Linked DNA regions of Homo sapiens: region 1 is linked to region 2. Evidence: promoter capture Hi-C in human tissues and cell types (Jung and others, 2019). All regions are on one chromosome and are shown on one strand. Each heading gives the region's core, a stretch centred on a gene start or on the middle of the fragment in contact. The rest is flanking DNA. Distances are from core to core; before and after follow the strand shown.

Region 1 (5,548 bases), core at 485-2,984, 610 kb after region 2:
CCCCTGGAAGATGGCGTTCAAGGGGGGCACCCTCTGCCCGTGCCTGCTATCGAACAGGAGCAGGGTCGGGATGGTGCCTGCCCCTGCCCCGGGACACTCTCCGTGTCCCCCAGCACAGGCCTCAGGTGACCTTCAGCAGGACCTGCGGGGTGACCTTGATGTGGGCAGGGAGGAGCTCCAGCGTCTGGGTCAACAGGTTTCGAAGGAGGCCTCAGGGCCCTAGGCCGTGCCCATGGGTCAGTGCCTCCGTCCACACCTACTGCCTCAGGGAGCCCGGGGTCTCTGAGACGACTGCAAGCAAGCTGTGTGGTGGCTGCCACAGTTTCCAGAGAAATGGAGATTTAAGAGCCACACCTGCCCTGGCACGCTTTTGACTCAGTTTCCCTCTGGGGGGGTCCCCTCTAGGAAAATCCTTCAATAATCAAGTTTTTGTTGACTACCACCCAGGGATTAGTGGGGCCCACAAAACCACGTGTCAACAAGACACATCTACACCACACATCAACAACGAGTGTACCGCGCGTGTCTACACCACCCATCTATCCCATGCATCTACACGGCACATCCATATGCGTCTGTACCTCGTGTCTACACCACATGTCTGTACCACGTGTCTAGACTGCCCATCTACAACATGTGTCTACACCACCATCGGATTAATGCCTGCTGGTGGGTCAGCAGGGCAGGCAGGACACACAGAGGGGGCCACCAGCAGGAGCTGAGGGGCTCCAGGAAGGGAGTGACCCCGGGAGGCGTCCTCTGGGAGAACTCTGGGGGGCCAAGCTGGGCTGGAGCATGATTGTGGATATGACAGGAGAGGTAGAATAAACCTCACATTCTCCAAGGCCACCTCCAACCTCCTTAGGAAAAAAGTGAAGCTGGTTCCCAGGTTGGATCCCCTCCCACTTTCTCCCCAAGCGGAAGACAAAGCGGGGGTCTGAGTGCCGGGCGTGCACTGTTGTGGGTGCCCTTGGCCTGGCCCGGTGCCTCCTTCCTGGTCATGCTCAGGCCTTGACCTTTAATGGCCTGGTCACCTCTGAGCATTGCTCTGTGGTTGTGGCCTGACTGTGTGGCAGCTCATAGACACAGAGAGGTGTCACAGGCTGCAATCCAGGCTACCCATGTGAAACCAGCAGGCCATATCTTCAGGGCTGTTGGGTTCCCAACTCTATGGCTGCTGGACTTTGTTGTGTGCTGGCACTTCAGAGTCTGCAGAGAGGAATGAGGGGTGCTGGCCTCAAGCCAGAGCAGAGATGTATTCCTGGACAAAGGGCCAGCAGCCCAGAGGGCTTTGAATAGGGTCTACCCAGTGGGACAGACAGCCAGGACTAATGGGATGGAGGGAGGAGAAATCCCTGAGAGCTTCCTGGGGGAATCACTATTCAAAAGCACATTCTAAGTGCCTGCTGGGACAGAACTGCTTACAACACCCCTCCGACCTGGTGCTTGGTTTTCCCCCTTAGCAAAGGGAAGTGTTGTCACCCCAGAAGTTGCAGCTCAGGGGCCAGAGAAGCTGGTTTTCTAGGGTGCACGCAGGCTGGGCTGCTTCTCTCCACTCTAAAGCTAAGTCTCTGCCTCAGCCCACAGGCTTGTCCAGCACCGCCCTAGGATGCACTTGTCTCTCTCTCTCTCTCTCACCTCACCCTGTGGGGGATGGGGGACTCAGAGCCCCACCCCCAGGGCCTCTGAGGCTCAGGACAATCGTTGCCTTGGCTAGATTGTTACCTAGGAGACAACCCCCTGGCCCCCTGGAAGAGGCCTCAGCAGGCCCAGGCCACCTGGAGGGAGAGCAGACCTGCGGCTGAGGATGCAGGGCTCCCGGGCACGGTGCTAGCCCTGCCTTGAGACACCCCGAGAGCTGTGGGAAGAGCTGTGGGATCCCCTATTGCATCACAAAGCGGCCCTGGAGGGCTGGTCTTTATTTTGATGAGGCTGAGAAGGGAAGGCTGCGGGCATGTTTAATCCGCACGCTTTAGACTCCCCGGCTGTGATTTTTGACAATGGCTCGGGGTTCTGCAAAGCGGGCCTGTCTGGGGAGTTTGGACCCCGGCACATGGTCAGCTCCATCGTGGGGCACCTGAAATTCCAGGCTCCCTCAGCAGAGGCCAACCAGAAGAAGTACTTTGTGGGGGAGGAGGCCCTGTACAAGCAGGAGGCCCTGCAGCTGCACTCCCCTTTCGAGCGTGGCCTGATCACAGGGTGGGATGACGTGGAGAGACTCTGGAAGCACCTCTTTGAGTGGGAGCTAGGCGTGAAACCCAGCGACCAGCCCCTGCTTGCAACGGAGCCCTCCCTGAACCCCAGGGAGAACCGTGAGAAGATGGCAGAAGTCATGTTCGAGAACTTCGGCGTGCCCGCTTTCTACCTGTCGGACCAGGCGGTGCTGGCTCTCTACGCCTCTGCCTGTGTCACGGGCCTGGTGGTGGACAGCGGGGATGCGGTCACCTGCACTGTCCCCATCTTTGAGGGTTACTCCCTGCCCCACGCAGTCACCAAGCTCCACGTGGCGGGCAGGGACATCACGGAGCTCCTCATGCAGCTGCTCCTGGCCAGCGGCCACACCTTCCCCTGCCAGCTGGACAAGGGTCTCGTGGACGACATCAAAAAGAAGCTGTGCTACGTGGCCTTGGAGCCCGAGAAGGAGCTTTCCCGGAGGCCGGAGGAGGTCCTGAGGGAGTACAAGCTGCCCGACGGGAACATCATCAGCCTCGGGGACCCGCTGCACCAGGCGCCCGAGGCCCTGTTCGTGCCCCAGCAGCTGGGCAGCCAGAGCCCCGGGCTCTCGAATATGGTCTCCAGCAGCATCACCAAGTGTGATACCGACATCCAGAAGATCCTCTTTGGGGAGATTGTGCTGTCGGGGGGCACTACCCTGTTCCACGGGCTGGATGACCGGCTTCTCAAGGAGCTGGAGCAGCTGGCCTCCAAGGACACCCCCATCAAGATCACGGCTCCCCCCGACCGGTGGTTCTCCACCTGGATTGGAGCCTCCATCGTCACCTCTCTGAGTAGCTTCAAGCAGATGTGGGTCACCGCCGCAGACTTCAAGGAGTTTGGGACCTCCGTGGTGCAGAGAAGATGCTTCTGAAGGCCGCTTCTCGTTGGGTACCGTGGGGGGTGAACCCTAGCCCCAGCTTTGGGAGGATGTTCAATAAAGGACCAATGCCGGAACACCTGGCCACCTCGGCTCAGTTCCTTCTTGGGGGCGGCAGAGTCATTTCTGGCCCTGACAGTGAATCTGTGAAGTGTCTTGGTCCACACCCGCTCCCCTTCGCTTCCTCCCAAGAAAGCCTGGGCTGAGGCCAGGCTGTGTCCATCTGCAGTTTGTATGAAAGTAGGGCCCTGGGCCTCAGGTGAATAGGGCGCTGGAGTCCGCATTCTAAACAAGGGTCTTAGGTGGGCTGAGAGAGTCGGCAGGGATGGTGGGGACTAGCGCGTGCACCAGGTTCTGACGGCTCAGCAAGAAACCCCTCCCTGTGTGGGCCCTACCTAGCATGCCAGGGCCGGGGCTCTGCTTGTGTGAGGCCGGGCGGCTGAACAGGGTGGAGCTGCCGCTCTCAGCAGATAGGAACAGACGGGAACAGAAGTCACCGTTTGTTTAGGGCCCTCTAAACTCAGGGGTCCTGCTCCCAAAGGAAGTACAAAGAATCAACACTTCTGCTTAGCAAGTGTGATTCTTCTGTTTGTTTTTACTTTCAGTGATGTTTATAGCATCATTGTTTGGGGGCAGAATGCTGGAAACAAAGTTAATGGCCATCACCAATGTTAACGGTTGAGTAAATTATGCATGGAGGGAATTTTTCCACATTGATGTGGTGGAATTAACCCAAAATATTATTGGGAGAGAAGTGGAAAATACAGATAACTCTTTACGCCATGGTCCTTCCCTTGGTTTTTTGGAAAAGAAAACAGCGCCCCTTCCCCATGTCTTTGCCTATGTCCGCTGCTTCGTGTGGACCCATACCTGTGTTCTATGTGGTTACCAAGTGCATGCACTGTGGGTTCCAGCATGTCGCCAAGGGAAGAGGGAGGGAGACGCAATGCAGGCGGAAAGAAGAAAGGAGAAAAAAGTACTCAGGAAATTCAGCCTGAATGAAATAAACCCATTTACCTGAAATGCGTGTGTCTTTCAATCTTCACAAAGTGCATCTTTTTCCACCATTTCACTTTCAACCGACCTATGCTGTTGGAAGTGAGCATGGGGCTGGTGTGAAGACGGCGTATAGCTGGGTCGTTTTCTTATCCACCCTACCAATCTCTGCCTTTCAGTTGGTGTATTTAGTCCATTTACCTGGTAACTCATTGATACACGGAATCTCAAGTCTGCCATCTGATCACTCTCTGCTGTGTCTTCTGCTTCTCATTCCTGTTTCTCTTTTCTTACCTCCCTCTGGGTTACTGGAACATGTTTCAGGATTGTGTCTTGATTTATTTAGCGTGTTTAGAGTACCTCGTTTTTGTAGGTTTCTTAGTGGTCACCCTGGGTATTACGCCGTATATGCCGGGATGTATATGATGTCACAAGCTACGGGCATTGACATGGTACCATTAGAGGGAAACGTGAAACCTTCTTCTGTCCGGGACCCTTCCCCCTCACCTCTAAAACACAGTTGTCTTGTCTGCTGTGTGTGCACTGAATGCAACATCAGGGGGGCTGAGATTTTTCCTTCAACCATCAAATATGATTTAAGAAGCTCGTCAAGTCGAATCTATTGACCCCTATTTTTACCCAATCTGGTGTTCTTTTGTCCTGTCTGAAGCCCAAGACTCATTGTGCTGTTATTCCTCCTGTGTTTAGAGAGCTTCCTGCAGCCATTCTGCAAAGATAGGACACTGGCAACAGAATCTTTGCCTTCCTTCAACTGAGGTGACTTAATTTCTCCCTCATCCCTGAAGGCTGTGTCCACTGCAGTGGAATCTGCAGGTCACCGTTTCCTTTCAGCTCTCGGGCTCTCCAGCCGCCTGGTTTCGATCAGGCATCCTCTGTTATTCGCTGGGCTCCCCAGGTCATGGGTCAGGTCTCTGTGGCTGCTTCAGAGTTTTCACTGTCTCTAGATTTCAGAAGTTTAATTTTGATGCGTCTCGGAGTGGATTTCTTTGGGCTTATCCCATCACCTTTTCCCACCGCGTGAATGCTGGGGGTTCACATCCCTGCAGGGAGCCCACTGACCCTAAGGTTCAGGCTGAAGTGGTGGCGATGAGACTGGCTCACACCACCTGGCTCAGCCTCACTGCTGCTGCTGGGGGCGGTGGGGTGGGGTGGGGGGTGGAGGGAGGTGGGGATAGGATGGGGGTGAGATGGGGAGGGAAGGGGATGGAGTGGGGTGAGGTGTAGGGGTAATGTGGGGGTGGGAAGGGGCGGGAGTGAGGTGGAGGTAGGGTGTTAGATCAATTCCCCACTTTCCCACTGAAACCCAAAGGTGGGGTGTGGTGTTTTCATTGGTGTTGAGCTGGAGTAAGGAAGGTGTTTCCAAAAAGCTATTCTGCTGGGTCACCCTGTTCCCAGGGGGAACAGGCTTTTCTGGGAGCTTTTTGTGTCTGTGCCTGT
Region 2 (5,242 bases), core at 2,253-4,752:
GCCCGGCCAATGGCTGCCCTTGGCTCCCAGGGCCTTGGCTGGCCAGTGTCCCTCCCTCTCTTGGCTTCTCCCCAAGAGTCTCTGCTCTTTCCCCTTTCTCCCTAGCTGTCCCCGCCACCTCCCCCAGCCCAAGCACTCGGATCCAGTCCCATGGCTCTCCACCAACCACACAGCTGGCACCACCCGATTTATGCCCAGCCTGGACCTTACTTGTGAGTGCCAGCCATGCAGGTCCGCCACCTACCTGACATCGCCATGTATGCTCAGATGAGCACCCCAATTCCACCCCTGCCGAGACAGCTTTCAGCGCCCCCACCCAGAAAAGCCTGCTCCCCGTTTCCATCTCTGTGGATGGCAACGCCAGGCCTCCGGTTCCTGAGGTCAAGCCCAAGGGGCACCCTGCATGCACCTTCCCTGTGTGTTCCACCCCCTCGCTGCCGCCCCTGCTCTGTACCACCACCATCCTGTGGGGGACTGTCACAGCCTCTGTAGTCTCCCTGAGCCCAACTTTGTCCCCTGAGGTCTGGTCTTAGCTAGTGGTCGGCCTCTCCCCTGCCCACGTCCCTGGAATGCCCCAAGCCTCGCACAGGGAAAGCTATGGGCTTACAAAACTCACGAGCCCCCCGGGGTCATTCTCCCAAACCGCCAAGGACGTGTTCTTCTCAGGGCCTTTCCCGGCTGCTTGCTCTGCCGGTCTGGAAAATGCTCTTCCCTAAGACGTGGTCTTTATCTCTGAGAGCCCCTCACTTCCCAAGATGCTCTGTGACGCAGCCACATCTGTCTCCCGCCCACCGAGCACACTCTCCATGGCGGCAGGATGCCCGGGGCGAGCCCCTCGTAGGGAACCAGGCTGGCACTCGGTGGTCCTTGCTACATGCTGAGCTGGGGTTGGGAGCCTGAGAGCTTCTGTCAACAACTCCCTCTAAAGGGTGGTGACCAGCCTGGGCCACAGACCCACCACTGCTCCACCAGGGCACTGTCACACGGGCACTGCACCCTATGACATGGCTCAGCACTGTGACTCACTGGTGCCACCAGGGCTGGCCACTGAGAAATGGGTCTCAGTGGCACCCGGGGTAAAGTCTTAAACAAAGAACCCCAGGGACACACAAAGGCTGGAAAAGTCGGCTCCCTGCTGGGAGCAGATGCCTCGCCTCCCTCGGAGCAGTACCTCCTGCACTTCCCTGAAGCAACCTCACCCGGGCCAGCTCCAGGAGCTTCTCACACTGCCTGGCAGCCCCCTGGCCACCGTCCCCAGACTTGGTGTGTGTGGCTGCCCTCAGTCCTGAGGTCCCGTGGGAGCTTCTACCTGCAAGTGTGGTGAGGCCAAAGTAGGCCACATCTGAGAGCAGCTCAACCTCCTTCCTCCACTCCAGCCACTTCCTCGCACCTGAGAGGAGAAACAGTATTAGTCCGGGGGAGCTGGTGGGCATCCTCTGAGGATGAGGGACCACAGTCCTCCCCCAGTTGTCTAGGCCCAGATCCAGTCCCACCCCTTCCATGAAGCCAACACTCACTCCCTGGCCTCCCTCTCTGCTTCTGTCTCCGGAGGCACCACCTTGACTTGCCTTAGCGTGAGCTGCAGACAGTCTGCGAAGAATCTCCCACCTGTGCTCATCTCTTGCTCCGGGATTCCCCTGAGCAACTGTTCTAGGGCCTATGAGGGCCACATGGAAAGATGGTCTGGGGTATTAAGATTACAGGCCAGAGGCCAACTGTCTAGCATCAAAAAGCAGCTCTCCAACTTGCTGGCTGTGAGGTCTTTCTGGAATCTCAATTTGCTCATCTATCAGAAGAGTAATAAGTCCTACTTGGAGGGATGTTTGAAGATTCAATATTTGTAAAACACTGGGAACAGTGTCTGGCACAGGGGTAAGTGCCAAGTGTACTGTAAAACAAGTAAGTACACACACAAAAAATTCTCATCATGTCACTCTCCTGTTCAGAATCCACCAATGGCTGCCCACCTGACACCCATGGGCCTCCCGGCACGGAGCCTGGCTGTCCTCTGATATTTACCCATGCTCTTCCTGTCCCATGGCACTGTTCCTTTGGCCACGACACCCCCACCACTGGGCTCTAGTGCCACTGCTCCCTGAAACGTTCTGCTGGGAGTTCATGCCTTTAACGACTGCCTGCCCCACCCCCCAAAGACTTGATGGCTTTGCCTTTTTTTTTTTTTTTTTTTTTTTGAGATGGAGTCTCACTCTGTTGCCCAGACTGGAGTGCAGTGGCACGATCTTGGCTTACTGCAACCTCCGCCTCCCGGGTTCAAGTGATTCTGTCTCAGCCTCCCAAGTAGCTGGGATTACACGCACGCGCCACCACGCCCTGCTGATTTTTGTATTTTTAGTAGAGACGGGGTTTCACCATGTTGTGTAGACTGGTCTCGAACTCCTGACCTCAAGTGATCCACCCGCCTCGGCCTCCCAAAGTGCTGGGATTACAGGCGTGAGCCACCACACCCGGCATCTTTTTTTTTTCGTTTTTTAATCGGTGATGGGGTCTGGCCCCGTCGCCCAGGCTGGAGTGCAGCGGCACAATCATGGCTCACTGCAGCCTCATCCCTCGGGCTCAGGCGATTCTCTTGCCTCAGCCTCCTGAAGAGCTGGGATTACAGACGCCGCCACCACGTCCGGCTAATTTTCAGATTTTTTGTAGAGACGGGGTCTTGCCATGTTGCCCAGGCTGGTTTCAAACTCCTGGGCTCAAGCGATCCTCCCGCCTCTGCCTCCCAAACTGCTGGGATGACAGGTGCTGCTTCATTGAGTACACTGGCTTCTGTACTCAGCTCCCGGCCTGGTGAGGCAGGCAGGGCCTGGCTGAGCCTACACTGGGGTCAGCAGGGCGAGGGGCCTGGGCTGCTGCTCAGGCCTAGGAAAGGCCGGGGTCAGTGTGAACCGGACCGAGGTATGAGGCGTTCGCGCCGCGGGCGCTCTGACCCCTCTGCTCACAGGGGAGGATCGGAGGGAGGCTTGAAGCACTTGCCAAGGCCTCACACCTGGAGGGGACAGAGTCTTCCCCAGCCGCTGGCGTCAGCTGGACCTGCCCTGAGCTGGGGACGGGAAGGGCTTGGGCGGGAACTGGAGGCCCACGCAGGTCCCCCGCGGTGTCTGCGGCCTGTGCCTCTGGGGCCACCTGGCCAGGGAGGGCAGGAGGTGCCCCGCACATCCCTGAATGGCCGCAGGGCAGGCGAAGGAGACTGCCGGGTCCCAGGTTGTGGGACGGGCCCAGGCGACCGTGACCACACACGGCAGACACCCCGCCTCCATGAGGGGCAACACCCCCTGGGCCGCTCGCGAGGACGTCCGGCCGCGCCCGGCCCTCACCCGCCAGGCTGTGCAGGGCGCCGCCCGCCGCGCTCCGCAGCCCACCGCGGTAGTACTCGTCCTTCTGCGCCGCGCGGATCACCTCCGGGGGGCTGGCGGCGGCCGGGGCCATGGCCGCGGGTTCGGGTGGTCCCGAGCAGCCACGCCGGCCACGCCCACGCCCAGACGGGCGAGAACTGATGACGGCACGACGTGGCTCTGCGTGCGGCGCAGACCTCTGCGTCAAGGTGCTGGGGCGGGGCCGGACTGGGGCTGGAGGCGGGGCCAGGGCCCGGGCGGAAGCGGGGCTGGAGTCCGAACCAGCGCAGCGCGGGGCGGGGCAGCGGGAAGGTAGTCGGAGGCGCAGGGCGGAGCGGAGCGGGGCGGGGCCCGCGAGCCGAGGTGGGGGCGGGGCACGCGCGAGGGGCGCTGGCGAGGCAGCGGGATGGGCTCGCGGCCGCGTGGTTGCTGCGACCTCGGGGTCCTACGCTGCCAGGGGCCCCTGCTCTGCTCCCTGCACGTCCACGGGCCGCCCTCCCACTGGGGACAGCGCTGCGGAGTGGAGACGCTGCAGGCCCATTTACGGCTGGGGAGACGGAGGCTTTCGCTTGGGTCTTCGGGAAGCCGAGCTCCCAGCGCCGGCCGCGGCGGTCCCGCCCTCGCGCCCTTTGAGCTGCGCGGGCTCTCAGCGCGGGTTGGCCAGTTCCGGGGAGCCGGTCGGTTTGGGGGCCAGAGGGGCACGAGGCGAGACCCGGGACCTTCCAGGCCCCGAGCAGCCGCCTTCCCCAGTAATCCTGCGCGAAAAGCACACGGCCGGCTTGGTGTGGACGCCCCCCTGGTGCCCACGGGAGGCAGGGCCTGGCGGGTGGGGGGCAGCCGGGAAGCCGCCGCGTGGTTCCAGGACGGGCGGAAGGTGGCCTTCCACCCTCCACCCTCCACCCTGCCTGGCCTGAGCCCCGCAGGTGCTCTGGGGAACCACATCGCAGGCGCTCCGATCCCTCTGCTCCCAGGGGACGAGCGGAGGGAGGCCTGAAGCACTTGCCAAGGCCGCACACCTGGAGGGGACAGAACCTTCCCCAGCCGCTGGCCACAGCTGGACCTGCCCTGAGCTGGGGGTGGGAAGGGCTGGGGCGGGAACTGGAGGCCCACGCAGGTCGCCTGCGGTGTCTGCGGCCTGTGCCTCTGGGGCCGCCTGGCCAGGGAGGGCAGGAGATGCCTGGTACATACCTGAATGGCTGCAGGGCAGGTGAAGGAGAAGGCCCTGTTTTTTGGCCCCAAGGGCAGCACTTGGCCCTGGAGAGTCCTGCAGGATTGCAGGAGGAAGGCAGGGCACGACAAGGGGGCGTCTGCGCCCCGCTGACCTCAGTGGGGAGGGCCTCCAGTTCCTTGCCTCACCTCTGGTTCCATCTACAGGAGCTCAGCTGTGGGATCATCCCCAGACTGGCACAGCCCAGTCACAAAGCCAGAGCCCCACACTGCAGGAATGGCCCCTCTTACAGGGAAGGGGCATGGCCTGGGTGGCCCCGCCCCGCAGGCCCTCTGGCTACCAAACCTCCCAGCGCCCCCGCGCCCCTTTGGAGTTCTGACCCCGCGGGTGCACCCGTGTCTCCTGGACACAGAGGCTGCCCTCTGATTGGGTTGAGCACCTTGGGCTGAACCCCTCATCCGTGGACCAGGCAACCCGGCATCGCCCACGTGGAGCCGCTGAGGTGATCATGTGTTCTGGTCAATGCTTAGATAACAGTTTGAGATGCCGCTCTGGCCCCTGGGTTCATGGCTCCACGTCTGATTCTGAGGAGGAGGCTTCGGCTCCTTTGGATTCACACTGGGTTCTATGATGGGCCCCTGACGGGAGGGCCTGCTCTAGGAGGCATCCCCCACCGCTGTCCTGGCTCAGGACTGCTTTCCCCACTCTTCTCATCTGCACCCTGGGC

What was found. The method cuts DNA at HindIII sites, captures the fragments that hold promoters and counts their contacts. A contact is called where the count stands out against the background at its distance.
Region 1: a contact is called between the fragment with the promoter of ACTRT2 here and the fragment with the promoter of PEX10 in region 2, in 1 of the 25 tissues and cell types used here (H1 embryonic stem cells).

What each region holds. Positions count from the first base shown.
Region 1 is chr1:3,019,733-3,025,280 of GRCh38, forward strand. ACTRT2 (actin related protein T2) reads left to right here and starts at 1,735. Exons shown (of 1, transcript NM_080431.5): 1 at 1,735-3,171. The coding sequence starts at 1,955. The coding sequence ends at 3,088. RefSeq lists an enhancer at 4,617-4,786. The HindIII fragment of the contact is 18,700 bases long and covers 1-5,548 here.
Region 2 is chr1:2,409,062-2,414,303 of GRCh38, forward strand. It overlaps PEX10 (peroxisomal biogenesis factor 10), which reads right to left and starts at 3,503. Exons shown (of 6, transcript NM_002617.4): 1 at 3,330-3,503; 2 at 1,310-1,390. The coding sequence starts at 3,441. RefSeq lists enhancers at 1-121, 2,150-2,730, 2,731-3,311, 3,312-3,892, 3,893-4,472 and silencers at 3,089-3,468, 3,629-4,228. The HindIII fragment of the contact is 18,898 bases long and covers 1-5,242 here.